Linked DNA regions of Homo sapiens: region 2 is linked to region 1. Evidence: promoter capture Hi-C in 16 types of primary human blood cells and fetal thymus (Javierre and others, 2016). All regions are on one chromosome and are shown on one strand. Each heading gives the region's core, a stretch centred on a gene start or on the middle of the fragment in contact. The rest is flanking DNA. Distances are from core to core; before and after follow the strand shown. Region 1 holds the start of RTCA (RNA 3'-terminal phosphate cyclase). Region 2 has its middle 16 kb from the start of CDC14A.

Region 1 (4,479 bases), core at 1,139-3,638:
TAAATTGTGAAGATTTCATGGACATTTATCAGTTCCCAAATAATACTTTTATAATTTCTTATGCCTGTCTTTACTTTAATCTCTTAATCCTGTTATCTTCGTAAGCTGAGGATGTACATCACCTCAGGACCACTGTGATAATTGTGTTAACTGTACAAGTTGATTGTAAAACATCTGTGTTTGAACAATATGAAATCAGTGCACCTTGAATAAGAACAGAATAACAGCAATTTTTAGGGAACAAAGGAAGACAACCATAAGGTCTGACTGCCTGTGGGGTTGGGCAAAAACAGCCATATTTTTCTTCTTGCAGAGAGCCTATAAATGGATGTGCAAGTAGGAGAGATATTGCTAAATTCTTTTACTAGCAAGGAATATAAATATTAATACCCTGGGAAAGGAATGCATTCCTGTGGGGAGGTCTATAAACAGCCGCTCTGGGAATGTCTGTCTTACGCGGTTGAGATAAGGACTGAGATACGCCCTGGTCTCCTGCAGTACCCTCAGGCTTACTAGGGTGGGGAAAAACTCCGCCCTGGTAAATTTGTGGTCACACCAGTTCTCTGCTCTTGAACCCTGTTTTCTGTTATTTAAGATGTTTATTAAGACAATATGTGCACTGCTGAACATAGACCCTTATCAGTAGCTCTGCTTTTGCCCTTTGCCTTGTGATCTTTGTTGGACTCTTATAAGTAGTTCTGCTTTTGCCCTTTGTCCTGTTCCCTCAGAAGCATGTGATCTTTGTTAGACCCTTACTAGTAGTAAGGTCTTTTTGCCTTTTGAAGCATGTGATCTTTGTACTTTTGTACCTACTCCCTGTTCTTACACCCCCTCCCCTTTTGAAACCCTTAATAAAAACTTGCTGGTCTGAGACTCAGGCGGGCATCATGGTCCTACCGATATGTGATGTCACCCCCGGTGGCTCAGCTGTAAAATTCCTCTCTTTATACTGTCTCTCTTTATTTCTCAGCTGGCCAACACTTATGGAAAATAGAAAGAACCTACGTTGAAATATTGGGGGCGGGTTCCCCCAATAAAGATGTCAGATAGGGGTACAGCTTTTTTATATTCCATCCCTACCATCATTGCCTTACTTCAACTTCTGATTATTTCTTGCTGGATAATTGTATCATTGGCATTTCTCCCTTCAGGCTCTTAAGCCTCTTATTCACCCTTCTCCTACTGCCAAAGCCTTCATTTTAAAATGCAAGTATCATTACTTCTCTGATTAATATCTTACGGCAAATTCCAGATTTGGTTAAGTACATAGTCTGTGTGTTCCCTAAAACATTCTCTGTCGCAAAGCAGCAGAGCGTTGGGATTACCAGACAGTGGTGTTCACATCAGACCACCCAGGTTCACATCTCAGTCTTCTAGTTAAAATTGTGTGACCTTGTAGCAAATTGTTTAACACAGGAAGCTGTAAAACAGTAAAAACAGTAAGTACTTTATCATGTTATGAATGCATGCAGTGCACAACACCTAAGTGCTCAATAAGTGTTGCCTGTTATTGTTACAGTATATTATTAATATATTGTAATTGTCCCCATAATAAACTCTAAATACAGTACATGTTAATTATTATTGAGGATGACATTGTAATTGATTACGTCTCAGTCTCTCCATTATACCTCCAATAACTTCGGGGGTAGAAGCTGAATTACTCTTTTTTGCTTCCCTAGAGGTTTACATATTATTTGGTACTCAATTATGTAGGAACTGAGCCACAGGCAGAACCAAGAAGCTGGCTATTGCTTCTGCCCTCGCCTGAGGTGAATTGTTAGCTGCACTGTTCCTGGGAGTCAAGAGCTTGCACTCACTCTCAAGCAAAATGGCATAACTTTGGCTTTTCAGAATATTAAACTAGTGATTCTGCCTTTCCCGCCTCTCAAATAAATGGTGTGTCACCCTAGAAAGAAAGATAACACACTCCGCATACACAAACACGCACACCGCAAGGAACCAAAGGCCAAGAGTATCAATGTACCAGGGCGCACACACTTCGAGAGACAGGTTCGGTGCATCGCAGGATCCCAATCTTTCTTGCATCTTCAGCTCTAAAAGTCGGCACCTCGGGGTATGCCAGGATCCTCGAGAAAACAGATATAAACACATATTTACCCACAAAACAGAGATAAAGCACAAGCCTGCGGGATAACTGGAGGAGTTATCTTACAGTTGAGACTTTCTGCAACCTGCAGATTTTGCCGTGCCCAGGGCACAAGTTTTTCAGGGCTCCTGGGCACCCCCGCGACCGTCATCTCACTTCCCCGGCAGCTTCCTCGCCCCGACCGCAGTGTTCCCAGCGCGGCTCCTTTAAGCCGAGCTACGCGCATGCGCACTGACTGCGGAACTGGGCGAACCCGGGGGTTCGTTTCTGCTGACTCCAGTGTCCCGAGAGGCGCCGCTTCTTCCGCTTTCTCGTCAGGCTCCTGCGCCCCAGGCATGAACCAAGGTTTCTGAACTACTGGGCGGGAGCCAACGTCTCTTCTTTCTCCCGCTCTGGCGGAGGCTTTGTCGCTGCGGGCTGGGCCCCAGGGTGTCCCCCATGGCGGGGCCGCGGGTGGAGGTCGATGGCAGCATCATGGAAGGGGTGAGTACAGAGCGAAGCGGCCGGGGCTGCAGCCTAACTAAGGAGGGGAGCTCTCACCACCGGTGTGCTTACTTCTCTTCTCCCTGTACCCCAACCTTTGCAGGGCGGCCAGATCCTGAGAGTCTCTACGGCCTTGAGCTGTCTCCTAGGCCTCCCCTTGCGGGTGCAGAAGATCCGAGCCGGCCGGAGCACGCCAGGCCTGAGGTAAATCTGGCTGGAGGGGGAGTTGGGCCGTGAAGCTGGGGGATCGGGGGGTCGGGCTGCCGGGCTGGGGCATCGGGAGTCCGAGTGGTGGAACCCAGAAGGTCCCAGACGCAGGTATGGGCGATCCAGGGCGGGGCACTCTGCCTGGGCGGTGGCCTGGGTTGTAAAGTCTTGAAAGCCTGGAGGGGTGAGTTTAGAAATGGTCTCGAGTTTTCTCTGTTTGACTAAATAGTGTCATTTGCTGAAGAGCTAGCTTTTAAAATGTTTTCTCACCTCACCGGGCATTCCAAATATCCGAACAGCACGTATGAGCTGGCAAGATAGATAGGGCAGAAATGCTTGTGACGCCAGAGGAAACCCTGTTTTATAACCAGTGCATTCTGGTTCTGCTGTCAGTTTTAGAATCATAAAACAGGAAAGAATCCTGAGATGTGTTATCCCAGCCTTCATTCATACCTCCAGAGAGCTGTTATGACCAGAATTATCTGTTGTGGAGAGGGAAACACCTTGACATTTGACCTTATTTCTTCTGTCTGGGTAGCTGGGCATGCCACTAGTTGAGCTTCAGGTACATGCACCTGCTAGAAGAGGACCCAGGTTTGAAGCCACACTGATTGCTTTGTATGTATTCTGTATTTATTACATTTTAATAAATCAGCGGTCTCAGTCTTTTGTCTACAGTTTTGAAATTACCAAAAGGCAATTACTGATATGTTAATGTTAATTGCCTTTGTCATAGTTTGCAGCCCTCCAGTTCACCAACAGGGGAATCCAATTCATTAGGCTGTAGGTGTTGTATTAGTTTGCTAGGGCTGCCATAACAAAATGCCACACACAGAGTGGAGCTTAAACAACAGAAATTTATTTCCTCACAGTTCTGGAGGCTGGAAGTCCAAGATCAAGGTCCTGACAAGGTTGGTTTCCTCTGAGAGCCATGAGAAAAGGATCTGCTCCAGGCCTGTCTTTTTGCCTCTTCACATGGTGGTTCCTCTGTGTACCTTGCCCCTAGCGTCTCTGTATGTTCTAGTTTTTTTTTTTTTTATAAGGACACCAGTAAGATTGTATGGTGGCCTTATTTTAACTTAATTATCTCTTTAAAGGCTCTATCTCCAAATATAGTCACATTCTGAGATACGGAGGGTTACAGTCTCAGCATATTAATTTAGGGGGAACATAGTTCAGCCCATACAGGCACCATAGATTGTTCAGTCAAGTGCAAGCGAGACTGGTGGCACTGAAATAACTATTAGTTTTCTTCTTTAGCACACTTCTAATTTGCAGCAATATATCAGGGTATGTATTTATAGTCAGAAATAACTGGTCTGCAAGGAAGTGTTAAAATGATACATACTAGCAGGTAGTCTAGGTGCATAAAAACCCAAAAGGAAGCTGACACTGAAGATGTGGCACTTACTGTGGTTAGACCTTGCTGTTTTCTTGCCATTGCAGTTTTATAAATTTGTCATAAAATGTGGGGATGTAGGCAGTCTGAATGCACACGTTTTGATGCAGTATTATGACCTGAAGGCCTCAACATTTATCTGGACTGGAAATGATTCGAGATTTGTGTGATGGGCAACTGGAGGGGGCAGAAATTGGCTCAACAGAAATAACCTTTACACCAGAGAAGATCAAAGGTGGAATCCACACAGCAGATACCAAGACAGCAGGGTATGTATCAC
Region 2 (4,479 bases), core at 890-3,389, 70 kb after region 1:
GAGGAAGATTGCATAAGGACCAAGTTTTAGAGGAAAGATCAGGAATTTGTTTTGAGACACACTAAGTTTGAAAGGTCTTTTGGACATTTAAGTGAAAATGTCTAGCATACAGTTAAATATATGTCAGGAGATCAGTAGAGAGGTCAGGGTTGGAGATAAACATTTGCAAGTAAACATATAGATCACAGTTAAAAGTCATATAACTACATGACATCACAAAGGGAGTGGCTGAGATAGAGAAGTGTATAGGCTCTGAGTCCTGGGTACTCCAAATTTAAAAAGCCCAAAAAATGAGGAGAGAGTCTAAAAAAGCAGCAGCCCATGAGACAGAAGGGAAACCAAAAACCAGGATCTATGATGTCATGAAAGCCAATTAAGGAAAGTGATCAGAGGAGGAGAAAGCAAACAACGGTTAAATAGAGCCAGGTGTGGTGGCCCATGCCTGTAATCCCGGTACCTTGGAAGGCTAAGGCAAGAGGATCGTTTGAGTCTAGGAGTTTGAGACCAGTTTGTTGTCCCTGAGCAACATAGGGAGACCCCATCTCTACGTCTTTGGTACCAGCTACCTGGGAGGATGAGATGGGAGGAGTGGTTGAGTCTGCACTGAGCCATGAGTGTGCCACTGCACTCCAGCTTTGGCAACAGAGTGAGACCCTGTTTCAATTGATCAATCAATCAATGCTAGTAATAGGTCCAGTAAGATGAGGACTAAGAATTGGCCATTGAATTTAGCATCTTGTGGATCACTGGTGACCTTGACAAGAACATTCTGGTGGAATAGTGGGTACAGAGCCTGATTAGAGTGTGTTAAAAACACAATGAGAGGAGAAGGATTAGAGGCAGAGAAGATAGAAAAATTTTGAGGAGTTTTTGCATGAAAGGCAACAGAAAAACCACATTCTATTTGAGAAAACGAAAGACAATTGTTCTTTCTGATTTTGATTTTCTGTTATCGTTGACACTGTATGCTCCCTTCCCCTTGGCTTCCAAGACTTCCACCTGCCAATATCTGCATCTTTGTGCCTAAGAACTTCTGAATCCTGCATGCACCAAAGGAAATGCTCAGAAATTAACACCCCTAGGAGCAGCCCTCCACCAATGGGTGACAGGAGTTGGTGGATAAATATCACAGCTCCTGTGGGGATAGTTCTTAGGCTCGTGGTTTTATATCACACCAAGCCAGTGGTAGCTAGGCTCAAGGACACACCCTCTATTAGTTGCCTTCACTTCCTTGCCCCATTTCTTCACTTCCCAGATGGTTTCCTTGTACATCCCAAATAAATTACTTGCACTTGAATTCTTGTTTCAAAATCTGCTTCTTGGGGAAGCAGATTTAAATTAATTTAAATCTTAATTTAATTTAAATTAAATTAAGACACTGTGTATTTAGGTTTAATCTAAAACTTAATAAAGCTCAAATGCACCATGCTACACAATAAATACTTTCAGTTTATAATTAGCATATTTGCAGTTAAAGGCCCCTTCTTAAATAATTTTGGGCAAATGCAACAAAGTCTTTAGAAAATGGAAAGACTCAGAAAGCTTCCTTTTGCAAGTAATTCCTAGGCTTCTTTTCTTTTTCTACCTGTGATAAATAAGAAATATGTGTTTGATCTTTGTCCCCAGTTCCTGACATGGAACTTCTAAAACCCTTGGAATTTCCTGAATGATAGGGGCGATAGTGTTACTATAGGTAGGCAGACAAGAGCAGGGCATGAGACCTCCCTACCCACCGCCCAACCAGGAACATCAGGTGACCATCAGATGATGGTCATGCAGTTGATAACTTTCTCTCTAAATAATCATTGATTGTAGCCAGCGCCAGGGAAAGGCAGTCTCTCAATAGATAGGAAACACCTGAAACTAGTGATTAGCTGCTTCCAGGTAAGATCTCAGAAGTTGGGTGGGTGGGCTCAAGCATGCACTTTAAGAGGCAAAATGGTGGAGTTTAAGCCCTCGACTGCTAAGGGAAAAATGCTTCAAATGAGCATGTGCACAATGTCAGTAAACACTGTGTGCATGCGGCCCCTCCCTACTGCTGGCAGGCCATTGTGCATGCGGACAGCCCACCCCAAGGGAAGAATCAGGGGAGAAGGATGCAACCCTCAGAAGCATGTCATCATATAAGACCCCAAGCCAAACATCAAACAGGGCATGGTGTTTGACTCTCTCATGTCGCCCACTTGGCCCTCTTCCAAATGTACTTTACTTTCTTTCATTCCTGCCTAAAACTTTTTAATAAACTTTCACTCCTGCTCTAAAACTTATCTTGGTCCCTCACTCTGCCTTATGCCCCCTTGGTCAAATTCTTTCTTCTGAGAAGGCAAGAATTGAGATTGCTATCTACCTGTATGAATTTGCTACCAGTAACATGCTTTGTTCCCGCAAGACTTGGATATGCTCCCTAGTGGTAAAAATAGGAGCATCTTTTGTTATTCATAATAAGCCTCTTCCAACCATACTAAGGTAACTTTTGGGGGACCCCTCAATAGCTTCAGGATAGGGGCTGGTTGTCAGAGCAACTAACCTTGTGAAACTTTCAGCCCCACCTCAGGACTTCTGGGGAGGAGAGAGAGAGGAGCTGGAGACAGAGTTCTATCACCGATGACCAGTGATTTATCAACCATGCCTACATAGTGGAACTGCCATAAAAACCCCTAAATGACAAAGTTTGAAGAGCTTCTGAGTTGGTGAACACATGAAGATGCTGAGAGGGTGGTGTGCACACAGGGCATGGAAGCTTTGTGCCCCTTCCTCCATACCTTTCCCTATGCCTCTTCCATTTGGCTATTCCTGATTTGAGTTCTTCATAATAAATTGGTAATTGTAAGTAAAATACTTTCCTGAGTTTGGTGGCCATTCTAGCAAATTACTGAATCTGAGGAAGGGGTTGTGGAAAACTCTGACTTATGGGTGATAGGTAATGGTGATGAAAAGAGTAAAATTCTGGAAAATATTTGAAGAGATTTATTCTGAGCCAAATCTGAGGACCAGGACCCATGCCATAGCCCCAGGGAGGTCCTGAGAACACGTGCCTGAGGTGGTCAGACTATAGCTTGGTTTTATATGTTTTAGGGAGATGTAAAACTTCAATCAATACATGTAAGATGTACATTGGTTTGGTCTGGAAACGCGGGGCAACTTGTAGGGAGAGGGATGTCCTAGGTCATAGGCAGATTCAAAGATTGCCTGATTGGCAATTGGTCGAAAAAGTTAAGTTATTATCTAAAGACTTGGAATCAGGATGGGCGCAGTGACTCATGCCTGTAATCCCAGCACTTTGGAAAGCCGAGGTGGGCGGATCACCTGAGATTGGGACGAGACCATCCTGACCAACATGGAGAAGCCCCATCTCTACTAAGAATACAAAATTAGCTGGGTGTGGTGGCACATGACTGTAATCCTAGCTACTGGGGAGACTGAGGCAGGAGAATCACTTCAACCCGGGAGGCGGAGGTTGCGGTGAGCCAAGATCGCGCCATTGCACTCCAGCCTGGGCAACAAGAATGACACTCCACCTCAAAAAAAAAAAAAAAAAAAAAAAAGGACCTGGAATCAATAGAAAGGAATGAAAGAGTGTCTGGGTTAAGATAAGGGCTTGTGGAGAACAAGGTTTTTGTCATGTAGAGGAAGCCTCCAGGTAGCAGGCTTCAGAGAGATTAGATTGTAAATGTTTTTTTTATCAGACTTAAAAAAGGTGCCAGACTCTTAGTTAATTCTCTCCTGGATCAGGGAAAAGACCTGGAAAGGGGGAGAGGATTCTCTACAGAAAGTAGATTTTCCCCACAATAGACAGCTTTGCAGGGCCATTTCAAAATATGTCAAAGAAATATATCTGGGGGTAAAATACTTTGATTCCTTTCAAGGTTAGCTATCTGTCATGTTGGTATCTTATTGCTACAAGAGTCTATTCGGTCAATCTTTAGGTCTCTGTTTCAATGTTAATACTGGTCAGTTGTACCTGAATTCTAAAGGGAGGAGGGTATAATGAGGCATGTTTGGACCCCTCCTTTGCCATCACAGCCTGATCTAGTTTTTCAGGTTAACTATGGAATGACTTTGGGTGAGAGGAGGGGTCCATTCAGTTTGTTGGGGGGCTTAGAATTTTACTTTTGGTAACCTGGGAACTTGCAACTGGCATCTGAAGTGACACAGTCTTGTGGTACTGAAGTTTTAACTTGTGAGATCTGATGCTAACTCCATGTAAATAGTGTCAGGTAACTCCAGGTAACTTCTGTGCTCACGCCAACTGGGTGTCCTACAATTAAGTTGAACTGTAGGAAACCCAATTGATGTGGGCAGAGAATTGGAGAATTGTTTGGTATGGAAAATTCCTACACATTTGATGTTGGAAATGTGAGTAGAAACAGTAGAGAACTACCAAAAACTAAATTATTTTTAAAAGCACATTTTTTCTGGCATTTTGATGGCATTAGCACACTATGAGCATTGCTGAATATGAGGATGAGAGCGAAAGTC

Evidence for each region. Contacts are between HindIII fragments. The CHiCAGO score rates a contact against its expected background, and 5 or more counts as called.
Region 2: a fragment that was not itself captured here is called in contact with the fragment with the promoter of RTCA in region 1 in 1 of 17 cell types (erythroblasts); the score reaches 5.4 in erythroblasts.

Annotation. Positions count from the first base shown.
Region 1 is chr1:100,263,828-100,268,306 of GRCh38, forward strand. RTCA (RNA 3'-terminal phosphate cyclase) reads left to right here and starts at 2,389. Exons shown (of 11, transcript NM_003729.4): 1 at 2,389-2,593; 2 at 2,697-2,797; 3 at 4,325-4,468. The coding sequence starts at 2,549. RTCA-AS1 (RTCA antisense RNA 1) reads right to left here and starts at 2,347. Exons shown (of 3, transcript NR_110435.1): 1 at 2,177-2,347; 2 at 2,002-2,090; 3 at 915-1,420. RefSeq lists enhancers at 2,080-2,629, 2,198-2,557. The HindIII fragment of the contact is 11,806 bases long and covers 1-4,479 here.
Region 2 is chr1:100,334,482-100,338,960 of GRCh38, forward strand. No RefSeq gene overlaps it. Among named protein-coding and RNA genes, the nearest start is that of CDC14A, 16 kb to the right of the region's middle. The HindIII fragment of the contact is 1,198 bases long and covers 1,541-2,738 here.